Regions from separate parts of the Homo sapiens genome. Here regions 1, 2 and 3 are each linked to region 4. The links are contacts of gene promoters, found by promoter capture Hi-C in blood cells and fetal thymus (Javierre and others, 2016). All regions are on one chromosome and are shown on one strand. The core of a region is centred on a gene start or on the middle of the fragment in contact, and the rest is flanking DNA. Distances in the headings are between cores, read along the strand shown. Region 1 overlaps SPAG9 (sperm associated antigen 9). Region 2 has its middle 5.9 kb from the start of TOB1. Region 3 overlaps SPAG9 (sperm associated antigen 9). Region 4 holds the start of SPATA20 (spermatogenesis associated 20).

Region 1 (2,700 bases), core at 103-2,602, 430 kb before region 4:
GATTCACTAAAATTGCTTTATTATTTAAAAAAAAAACACCATAAATCAGATTTTCCTTTTTCAGCAGAGATTCTAATAGAAGCCTTGGGAAGAACTTTATGTATTACTTGGTATTATGCCAAGTGGGATCTTGTTATTTTCGTTAGGGGCTTTGAGCACCAGGTTTACCAGATAGAAGACGCTGAGAGTGGTGGCTCACAGTAATTCTCTCCTCCCTGTCATGCACCTCTCCATGTCCCCTTTCCTCCTTTCTCACTTTAGCCGTAATCCTCCACCAGGGACGTTTACTGGGGCTGAGGGGTAAGTGCAGATTCTGAACCAAACTCTTCTTCCTGGCTTCTAATAGCCACTGTAAGGCTGTTACCACTCCTCTAGAATACCCTCTTGAATGTTCCTAAATGTTATCCACTTGCAGTCACTGCATCGCAGCAGGTGTCTTTTTTTTTTTTTTAATGTTTGTTACATGGCCACCAAACTGCTCAGCAGCTTAGTCTATTTATCATCTTTTGTTGCAGCTGAACTTTCTTTCAGACTTTGTTTTCCTTCCAGTATAAACATGAAACATCTCTTAAAGCTGTCATTAATTTACATCGTTTACTCTTGTTACCGATCATATTTCTTTCATTTACTTACTTGCCCATGGAATGGGGATGTTTTGTGAGTCTGGTCTTTTACAGTACGCAGCACACCATCAGTCTGGTATCAATAAAAGCTGCTCTATTGTAGTGGCTGGATTCTTGTAAGCACAACTTTTTACCAACCCCCTCAAGGGAAATATTCTTACTGTGAGGGAGAAAAATCAGAAGATAAACTATAAAGAAAGACTTTATTTGCAAATATACCCATTTACTTTAAACTGTATAATGGTTAGTTTTCTAACATGTGCATTAAAAACAAAACAAGAAACAACTAAGATTCAAATTTGTTTTTTTTTTAACTAAAATTATTTTTTAAATGAATAGATGTGTTTAAAAAATAAGCTTACTTATTGCTAGACTGGCAAAATCCCCTACTCCATTTACTGAGGTACTTAAAAATAACTAGCATGCTGTATCTCTTTTTTTCCCAGCTTTGTCTTGAATTGGCATTGCCATCCTTGTTTTATCTCAACTGGCTGTAGCTTTTAGATAATATCATAAGGATTAACCAGTAACCTCTTACATTCATTACTGTTTTCTAGGGGAAAATATTTGGTATTTGGTTTTTCTGTTGCAGCAAATAAAACCTCAGGTGTACCAGGAAATCGTCCTGGAAGTGTAATCCGTGTATATGGTGATGAAAACAGTGATAAAGTGACTCCAGGGACATTTATACCCTATTGTTCAATGGCACATGCACAGCTTTGCTTCCATGGGCACCGGGATGCTGTGAAATTCTTTGTGGCAGTCCCAGGTATGTTAGATTATTCTGTTGAGATGTTCCATGTAATTGTCTCTCTTCTGTCATCTCTTGGTTCCACTACCTAATAGTCTAAGGCTAAGTACTCGAATTGCAGGTAATTTCAATATATACGAAGGAAGTTCTGTAATGGAGGTGTGACTAAGGTGCTATAGGGATACTTGAATGAAGTTACTTTGGAATATCTCTCCCACCCCCAAAGATAAATTTGTTGATTTTTCTTTAGGAGACTTGCTTACTTTTGAAAAGCAGTAGTATTATTTTATCATCGTGGATTGCCAAAAATGGTCTTGACCTAATAAGAGAAATCACTAGAAAGAAGCTTCTATCATCAAGGCTGCATGGAGGAAGAGAGAATGCACTCTGGTACCTTTAGCAGCTTAATAGGAAAAAGCAGTGAACTAGGAGGCCTGGGGGTCTGGCCCCTGTGTCTCTGCCACTAACCTCGAGCAAGGCACTTAACCTCAGAGACTCATTTCCTCACTCCTAGGTGGATGTGATTAATATCTGCTCTGCCTACTTCATTTGTTATGAAAATTAATGAAAATGCTACTGGGAGCTATAAAGCACCACCCAGAAAAAAGATGGAAGTGATGATGTCCAGTGAAAAATGACAAATTATCCATTGACAATACTTAAGTGATGTCACTGACCATCTGTAAGCAGGACACAGGTTTTGAATTTTTTTTTCCCATAAGAGGCAAGTTTAGGAGCTAGACGAAGTTCAGATCTGACTTTCCCCCACCAACTAACTGTGTGATGTAGTATATTAGTCAGGGTTCTTCAGAGAAACAGAACCAATAGGATGCATGTGTATGTGCGTATGAAGAGAGAGTTACTGTTAAGAAATTGGGTCACACAGTTGTGGGGACTAGCAGGTCTGAAATCTGCAGGGCAGGCTGGCAGGCTGGAGACCCCGGGAAGAGTGGATGTTGCAGTCCAAATCTGAAAGCAGTCTGGAGGCAACATTTCTCTTTCCTCTGGATCCCTCAGTCTTTTTCTTCTAAGGCTTTCAACTGGTTAAATGAGGCCCACCCACACTGTGGCGTGTAATCTGCTTTACTCAAAGTCTGTTGTTTTAAATGTTAATCACATCTAAAAAAGACTTACAATGATATCTAGACTGGTGTTTGACCAAATATCTGGGTATCGAGCTAACACGTCAAATTACTCATCATACTTATTTTCCCAAGGGTCTTCCAAAGATTAAATGATTTTATGTACATGGGGCAAGGGCTGGCATATGGTACCCTAAGCAATTATTCAGTTATTCTTAACAACAGTGATAATGAGCTTTCTGAA
Region 2 (2,700 bases), core at 54-2,553, 310 kb before region 4:
GCATTGGATCAGTTTTCTGTTTTTGCTGAGGAAACTTGCTTGGACAAAACGGCTGACTGAACTTAGAAAAATTTACATCACTTTACTAATCTTTAAAGTTTAGCTATTGCATATAGCTAGAGAACTTATGGTCAAAATCTATTCACGGCTGGACAGATGGTTAGATGTTAGCATTTTCATTTTCCCAGCAAAAACGCTTATGTATTTAATTTTTTGCAAGTGGGTACCCAACCTGCTGGTTTGAAGGATTTAGAGATATTGACAATGTATCAAATTGGAGTGGCTTGGTGAGGATGGAGTTTTTTAAAACTGAAGAGTTGGGGAGAAGAACACTAAATGAGTCATTTCACTAAATGTCAATTGATACAGTATTGACATAGTATTGGTGAGAAAGTTAACGTCCATTTGATACAGTGTTGACATAGTATTGGTGAGAAAGCTGTCTTAAAAAACTTTATATGTACTTTTATAGTAAGAAACCAGCACTGCCTGGGTTACCAGTGAAATAAATTTGGTCTCATGAGCTTTTTGGACACCAGTCTACAAAAGCCTTTTGTCATTTACCCATGCAGTGTAGAGCAATACAAAGTTTTAAGGAAACAAGCACTGGAAATAACAGAGCTAAGCTGTTTGTCAGCTCCATGGTGAGGCTTTTGTTCTTTAGGGAACAGAACGAGGCTATGAAGAAGTATTGGAATAATGGGTGCAAGCAGCAGAGATCTGGTCTGCCAACACTTACCACTTACATGCTTTTGTGATCACGAAGTTTGAATAGCTGTAAGAACCATCAGGATAATGGCTTTAAGCACTAGTTTCTGCTACAGACTGATAAAGTTACATTTGGGAGAAAACTCTACTTATAAATGAAGGCTCAAGTGTAATGTGCTTTTTCTGAAAATCATAAGGCAGCTGGACGGAACATAATAGAATTTTTTTTTTTTTTGAGACGGAGTCTCTTGCTCTGTCACCCAGGCTGGAGTGCAGTGGCACCATCTCGGCTCACTGCAACCTTCCACCTCCCAGGTTCAAGTGATTCTCCTGCCTCAACTTCCCGAGTAGCTGAGACTACAGGCGCCCGCCACCATGTTGGCTAATTTTTGTATTTTTAGTAGAGACGGGGTTTCACCATGTTGACCAGGCTGGTCTCGAACTCCTGGCCTCAAATGAGCTGCCTGCCTTGGCTTCCCAAAGTGCTCTGATTACAGGCATGAGCCATTGCGCCTGGTCAACAATAGAATTTGAAACTGTCTGGAGCACTAATATATTCATTTTATTTTGAGACAAGGTCTCACTCTGTCACCCAGGCTGGAGTGCAAAGGGGCCATCTTGGCTTACTGCAACCTCCACTAAAGCGATTCTCCTGTCTCACTCTCCTGAATAGCTGGGATTATAGCTGCGTGCCACCGTTCCCTGCTAATTTTTGTATTTTTTGTAGAGGCAGGGTTTCGCCACGTTGCCTGGGCTGGTCTCAAACTCCTGAACTAAGGTGATCCGCCCGCATTGGCCTCCCAAAATGCTGAGATTACAGGCGTGAGCCACCACACCCAGCCAAGCACTAATATATTCAGATTTTAAATACTGAGGTTAACATAAGCCTGAATATCTGTTTCAGATCTTAAGGATATATGTATCGACAAAAATCTTAGGGAAATTTCATCTTGGTACATATGTTTGACATCGGAGAATGACTAACTCAAAATGTGATCTTGATTGGTTTTATTAAAACTTGAGCTTGGTGTCCTTGAGAACTTCATCTTTTTTTTTTTTTAGACAGAGTCTCGCTCTGTTGCCAGGCTGGAGTGCAGTGGTGAAATCTTGGCTCCCTGCAACCTCCGCCTGTCGGGTTCAAGTGATTCTCCTGCCTCAACCTCCCAAGTAGCTGGGACTACAGACGCGCGCCACCACGCCCAGCTAATTTTTATAGTTTTAGTAGAGACGAGACGGGGTTGGCCAGAATGGTCTCGATCGCCTGATCTCATGATCCTCCCGCTTTGGCCTCCCAAAATGCTGGGATTACAGGTGCGAGCCAACGCATCCAGCGAGGACTTCATAATTTTTTAAAAAATGAACAAAGGCCCTGTTTACATGCCCTTTTTGTTCATTAGGAATGGGAATTTTTTAAAAGGTGCTTTTGCCTAGCACATCTGAGAAAAGGTTACATCTTAGTTCCAAGTCATTTTCTCCCCAAGGTGCCATCACACTTTTGACTCTCTGTGGGGAGACCATTTCGGTTGACAATTTGATGAATTCGTTATTTTCACAGGCCTTTCCCATCTTTTTGACTCCTATAACTACAGATACTGTAGCAGCCTCTGAATACCCTGAGTGTCCAAAATGTTGCCTTACAGATTTCATAGCTCATGGATGAGTAAGGAATATTATACCAAAAAATGGCTTTCTAAGTTTAGTATATTCGTTTTCTGCCCTGCCTTGTCGTTTCTGAAATCAGGTACATTGTGAAATGTCCTTTTCGCCTATAATAGATGGCAAATGTAAATATAGGCCTTCTTCAAAATGCCTCCTTAAAGATAACAATATATGCTGTGATTAGTTAACTTAGCTTTTGAAGGTGAAACTAAAGGTACTCTGAGTTTAAAATATTTTTCCAGGGCAGGTGCTGTGGCTCATACCTGTAATCCCAGCACTTTGGGAGGCCGAGACAGGTGGATCACTTGAGGTCAGGAGTTTGAGACCAGCCTG
Region 3 (2,700 bases), core at 97-2,596, 450 kb before region 4:
AATGAGGAAGAAGCAAAAGTGTAAACCCCTAATAAACCCATCAGATCTCGTGAGACTTATTCACTATCACGAGAATAGCATGGGAAAGACTGGCCCCCATGATTAAATTACCTCCCCCTGGGTCCCTCTCACAACATGTGGGAATTCGGGGAGATACAATTCAAGTTGAGTTTTGGGTAGGGACGCAGCCAAACCACATCAGTGGTTGTATTTTTACCCTTCCAAATAATCTGGAAATAAATTTGAAATAGTATTGCCTTTTACTGTAACAGCACCACCTTATGAATATTTGTACATACATATTGTTTTAAACATTTTTCCTCCTTTGCCTATACAGGAACAGCAGAAGGAGTTAAAAAATCAAGAAGAATTATCCAGTCTAGTTTGGATCTGTACCAGCACTCATTCGGCTACAAAAGTTCTTATTATTGATGCTGTTCAACCTGGCAACATCCTAGACAGTTTCACTGTTTGCAACTCTCATGTTCTGTGCATTGCAAGTGTGCCAGGTAAGAGTGAGTCATGCGTTTCTCTGCCCTCCCCTCCATCCACCTACCTGCTGGGCACTGATGTAGCAGCTGAAGATGCAGTTCTGCACCTTGCTGTCATGAAGCTTATGTTCTAGTTAGGGAAGATTAAAAAACAAACTGGAAACCATTGAATAAAGAAGATATTTTCAGGTAGTGAAAAATACTGTGAAGAAAATAAAACAATGGGAATATGAGAAAATAACTGGGAGCCAGAGGACTGTTTGGATTAATTAATAAGGAAAGGTCTTCTAAAGTTTTGGATTAAACATTATGTGATGTTAAAACATTAGTTTAAAAATTAAAGAAGTGTATGTGATATATCCATATGTTGGAATATTATTCAGCCATAAAAAGGAATGAAGTTCTTTTTTATATTTTATTGTGGAATACTTAATATGAGTTCTACTTTTTTTTTTTTTTTTTTTTTGAGACAGAGTCTTACTCTGTCACCCAGGCTGGAGTGCAATGGCATGATCTCGGCTCACTGCAACCTCCACCTTCCAGGTTCAAGTGATTCTCCTGCCTCAGCCTCCCGAGTAGCTGGAATTACAGGCACCTGCCACCACGCCCGGCTAATTGTTTGCATTTTTACTAGAGACGGGGTTTTACCATGTTGGTCAGGCTAGTCTTTTTTTTTTTTTTTTTTTGAGATGGAGTCTTACTCTGTCACTCACACTGGAGTGCAGTGGCACCGTCTCGGCTTACTGCAACCTCTACCTCCTGGGTTCAAGTGATTCTTTTGCCTTAGCCTCCCAAGTAGCTGGGACTACAGGCACGAGCCACTACACCCGGCTAATTTTTGTATTTTTGGTAGAAATGGGGTGTCACCATATTGGCCAGGTTGGTCTCGAACTCCTAGACCTCGTGATCTGCCCGCCTCGGTCTCCCAAAGTGCTGAGATTACAGGTGTGACCCACCACCCCGGGCAGTCAGATTAGTCTTGAACTCCTGACCTCAGGTGATCCACCCGCTTCGTCCTCCCGAAGTACTGGGATTACAGGCATGAGCCACTGAACCCAGCCTGAGATCTACCCTCTTAACACATTTTTGTTTTTGTTTTTTTGAGACAGGGCCTCACTCTGTTGCCCAGGCTGGATTGCAGTGGTGCAGTCACAACTCATTGTACTCATTGCAGCCATGACCTTCCGGGCTCAAGTGATCCTCCCAGCTCAGCCTCCCAAGTAGCTGGGACCACAGGCGCACACTACCACACCTGGCTAAGTTGTTTGTACTTTTTGTAGGCAGGGTTTCACCATGTTGCCCAGGCTGGTCTGGAACTCCTGGGCTCAAGTGATCTGCCTGCCTTGGCCTCCCGAAGTATTGGGATGCCCAGCCCTCTTAACAAATTTTTAAGAGTACAATACATTATCCTCTAGGTAGAAGTTCTGACACATGTTATAACACAGATGAACCTTGGAAACACTATGCCAAAGGAAATAAGTCGGACACAAAAGGACAAATATTATATGATTCCGCTTATATGAGATATCTAGAATAGGCACATTCATAAAAACATAGAGTTTCTGTGTGAGGTGATGGAAAAGCTTTAGAAATAGGCCGGCCATGGAGGTTCACACTCATAATCCCAGCACTTTCAGAGGCCAAGGTGGGACGATCACTTGAGCCCAGAAGTTTGAGACCAGTCTGGGCAATATAGTGAGACCTCATTCCACAAAAAATCAAAAAATGAGGCGGGAGGATAACTTGAGTCGGGGAGGTCAAGACTGCAGTGAGCTACGATTGCACCACTACACACCCACCTGGGCAATGGGAGTAAGACCCTGTGTTTTAAAAAAAAAAAAAAAAAAAAAAAAAAAAAGACCTGGCATGGTGGCTTACACCTGTAATCCAGACACTTTGGGAGGCTGAGGTGGGCGGATCACCTGAGGTCAGGAGTTCGAGACCAGCCTGGCCAACATGGTAAAACCCCGTTTCTACTAAAAATACAAAAATTAGCCAGGTGCAGTGGCAGGCGCTTGTAATCGCAGCTACTTGGGAGGCTGAGGCAGGAGAATTGCTTGAACCTGGGAGGCAGAGGTTGCAGTGAGCCGAGACTGTACCATTGCACACCAGCCTGGGCAACAAGAGTGAAACTCTGTCGCCAAAAAAAAAAAATAATGGTGATGGCTACACAATGTTATAAATATTAATGCCAATATTGTAAATATTA
Region 4 (2,700 bases), core at 1-2,500:
AGGTATGGTGACTTCTCGTGGATCAGGCGGTTGGGGACCCTCTGGGGTGTAGATGAAGGATGGCTTCCTTTCCCTCCAGCAGGCATGGGCACTGAACTACTGACCGTCGCACTTCGGTCCTTGTCCCGGGAGGAGCTACCCCTGGCGAGGACTGGTGCATCAGGCAAGCCAGGGGCCTCCACCCACCTTCTCCCAGGCCCCCCAGCACCTGCTCCATTTCACTCAGCACCCCAGTAGGACCCCTGCTCCCAGCCCAACCCACCTTTCTGAACCATGGGGGAGACTGTGGCCTTTGTGCTCCCCCTTATGTTTTTTGGGGGGTGAGGAGAGGTGGCTCATTGGGGGCTCCTTGCCAGGTTAGTCTCCCCCAACCTCCTGGGCCTGGCGGTGGGAAGGATGGCTGTGAGGTCAGGGCGGGTCACAATGGGCAGAATGGTTCTTGGGGCTCCATTCTTACCCCTCCCCAGGCCCCTCCCCCGGCCCTTCCTGGAGCAGCTGCTTGGAGGCATCTCTCTGGCAGGCCTGGGTGTGGCCCCACTGGAAGGCAGCCTACTGTTGGTGGCTGGACAGGCCAAGATCAGTAGGGTCTGGGACTCGACCAGGTGAGGGACAAACAGAGGAAACCAGACATGGGGACTCCCTCACTCAGCGCCCACCTGCTGGGACTCCTGTGGGGCCAGGTCCTGGGCCAGACTCCAGGACACCTAGGGAATCAGAGACCTCAGGGAGTTCAGCCTGGAAGTGGGACTGCAGGCAGACCTAAATAACGAAAGGTCCATGCAGCAATAAAGGACTGTGACAGGGCACAGGGTACTATTGGAGAAAGGCCCTTGACCCAGCATCCAGCACTGGGGTGCAAGGAAGGCTTCCTGGAAGCAGTGTCAGAACAGTCCCTGAGGAGCTGGCACTGCACTGGAAGGAAGGGGAGAGGAGGGAAGGGATGAGGACGGGAGAGGAGGGGAGGAGGGCCTTACAGCCAGAGCCAGGTCTCAGGAGCAGACCGGAGGTGGGGTGGGGGAAGGGCCAGGCATGCAGGGGTGGTCCAGACTGGCACTGGGGACCGGTGTCCGGAAGACCCTCCACTGGGCCCGCAGGCAGGCGCAGGGAGTGCCCTAGGGGCCCGCTCGCCCGCCCGTACCTGCGGCTCGCGGCGAGGCCTGCACCGGCGCGGGGCAGCAGAAGGACGCGGCCCAACCAGGCCCGCGCGCCCAGCATGGCTGCTCGGGGCCGTGGGCCCGGCCGCTGAGGACAGGAAGGGAAGTCAGGAGGCTGCGAGGGGCGGGCCGGGCACCTACGGAGCCGCGGGCGGGTCTTCGCCGGGACTTGGGACAGTGTGGCTGGTCTCCGAGCGTCGCCCTGCGGCGGAGCGCAGAATTGCAGATCAGGCACCCGAGCCTTGGGAGGACCCATTCTGTGCATAAAACTGGGCTCTGCCCCTGCCTGGGGAGGACAGCCCTTCTCAAGGGAATAGGGAGAGTTGTGGGATCTAGGGCTGGGAGATGCTAGGGACATGGGATGCCAGAGCTTCAGCTCATTTTGTCCAACCCCTGCCCATTTTACAAATGAGAAATGAGATCCAAGGCGAAGGCGTACCTTGGCCAGGTCCACCAGCTAACAAGGTTTGCTTTTTGCAGCCTCCTCGTCTCTAGGTCCTACTCAAATCCTACCCACTCCAGGAAGTCTTCCTTAAATAATACTGATGAGCCCATTTTATGTCTCATAGGTTACACATGGCCTCATTGGCTACATTCAGCCAATATTTATTAAGTGCCTGCCGCCTGCCACTCTGCAAGGCACTGAGTATACAATGGTGGGCAGAGAGAAACAAGGCTCCTGCCCTCACATGGCTCACAGTCTGTTGAGAGCGGCAGATGCTAATTCGACAGCCATACCGATAAACACCCACGTGACAAGTCCGTGAGGGTATAACGTAACAAGTGACCTGATCTGGTGGAAGGGGCAAAGGATGAAGGCTTCCCTGAGGAAATCACATTTGTGAAGCCATGGAGAACGAGAGAAAGGAACTTGGAGGGTGCTCAGGGGGAGTGCTGGGGAAGGAGGCAGAGGTACAGTTTGTGCAAAGGTCCCGTGGCTTGTCAGTGAGTCCGGGCTGAGCAACTGCAGAAAGAGGGAAGACAGGCAGTAGATGAGGGCAGAGGCAAGATCTTGGAGACACTCGTGAACTGTAAGAAGGGGATTTTTATTTTTTGAGACAGAGTCTCGCTCTGTCACCCAGGCTGGAGTGCAGTGGTGTGATCTCGGCTCACTGCAACCTCCGCATCCTGGGTTCAAGGCTGGTCTCGAACTCCTGACCTCAGGTGATCCATCTGCCTTGGCCTCCCAAAGTGCTGGGATTACAGGCATGAGCCACCATACCCGACCCCATTTTTTTTTAGCCAGAGTCTCACTCTGTTGCCCAGGCTGGAGTGCAGTGGATCTTGGCTCTCTGCAACCTCCACCTCCTAGGTTTAAGCGATTCTTGTGCCTCAGCCTTCCAAGTAGCTGGGACTACAGGAGCGCGCCACCATGCCCAGCTAATTTTTGTATTTTTAGTAGAGACGGGGTTTCGCCATGTTGCCTAGGCTGGTCTCAAACTCCTGACCTCAAGCGATCCATCTGCCTCAGCCTCCGAAGTGCTGGGATTACAGGTGTGAGCCACCGTGCCTGGCCAGAGAAGGGGATTTTTGATGACAGTAGAAG

What was found. Contacts are between HindIII fragments. The CHiCAGO score rates a contact against its expected background, and 5 or more counts as called.
Region 1: a fragment that was not itself captured here is called in contact with the fragment with the promoter of SPATA20 in region 4 in 4 of 17 cell types (total CD8 T cells, endothelial precursors, naive B cells and 1 more); the score reaches 7.8 in total CD8 T cells.
Region 2: a contact is called between a fragment that was not itself captured here and the fragment with the promoter of SPATA20 in region 4, in 1 of 17 cell types (total B cells). The highest score is 5.2, in total B cells.
Region 3: a contact is called between a fragment that was not itself captured here and the fragment with the promoter of SPATA20 in region 4, in 1 of 17 cell types (non-activated CD4 T cells). The highest score is 5.1, in non-activated CD4 T cells.

What each region holds. Positions count from the first base shown.
Region 1 is chr17:50,973,463-50,976,162 of GRCh38, reverse strand. SPAG9 (sperm associated antigen 9) reads left to right here. Exons shown (of 30, transcript NM_001130528.3): 28 at 1,216-1,392. Among named protein-coding and RNA genes, the nearest start is that of TOB1-AS1, 110 kb to the right of the region's middle. The HindIII fragment of the contact is 740 bases long and covers 983-1,722 here.
Region 2 is chr17:50,859,143-50,861,842 of GRCh38, reverse strand. No RefSeq gene overlaps it. Among named protein-coding and RNA genes, the nearest start is that of TOB1, 5.9 kb to the left of the region's middle. The HindIII fragment of the contact is 4,656 bases long and covers 1-2,700 here.
Region 3 is chr17:50,991,573-50,994,272 of GRCh38, reverse strand. It overlaps SPAG9 (sperm associated antigen 9), which reads left to right. Exons shown (of 30, transcript NM_001130528.3): 19 at 338-509. Among named protein-coding and RNA genes, the nearest start is that of TOB1-AS1, 130 kb to the right of the region's middle. The HindIII fragment of the contact is 1,461 bases long and covers 616-2,076 here.
Region 4 is chr17:50,545,724-50,548,423 of GRCh38, reverse strand. SPATA20 (spermatogenesis associated 20) reads right to left here and starts at 1,250. Exons shown (of 17, transcript NM_022827.4): 1 at 1,139-1,250; 2 at 657-704; 3 at 1-141. The coding sequence starts at 1,215. RefSeq lists a silencer at 971-1,240. The HindIII fragment of the contact is 19,639 bases long and covers 1-2,700 here.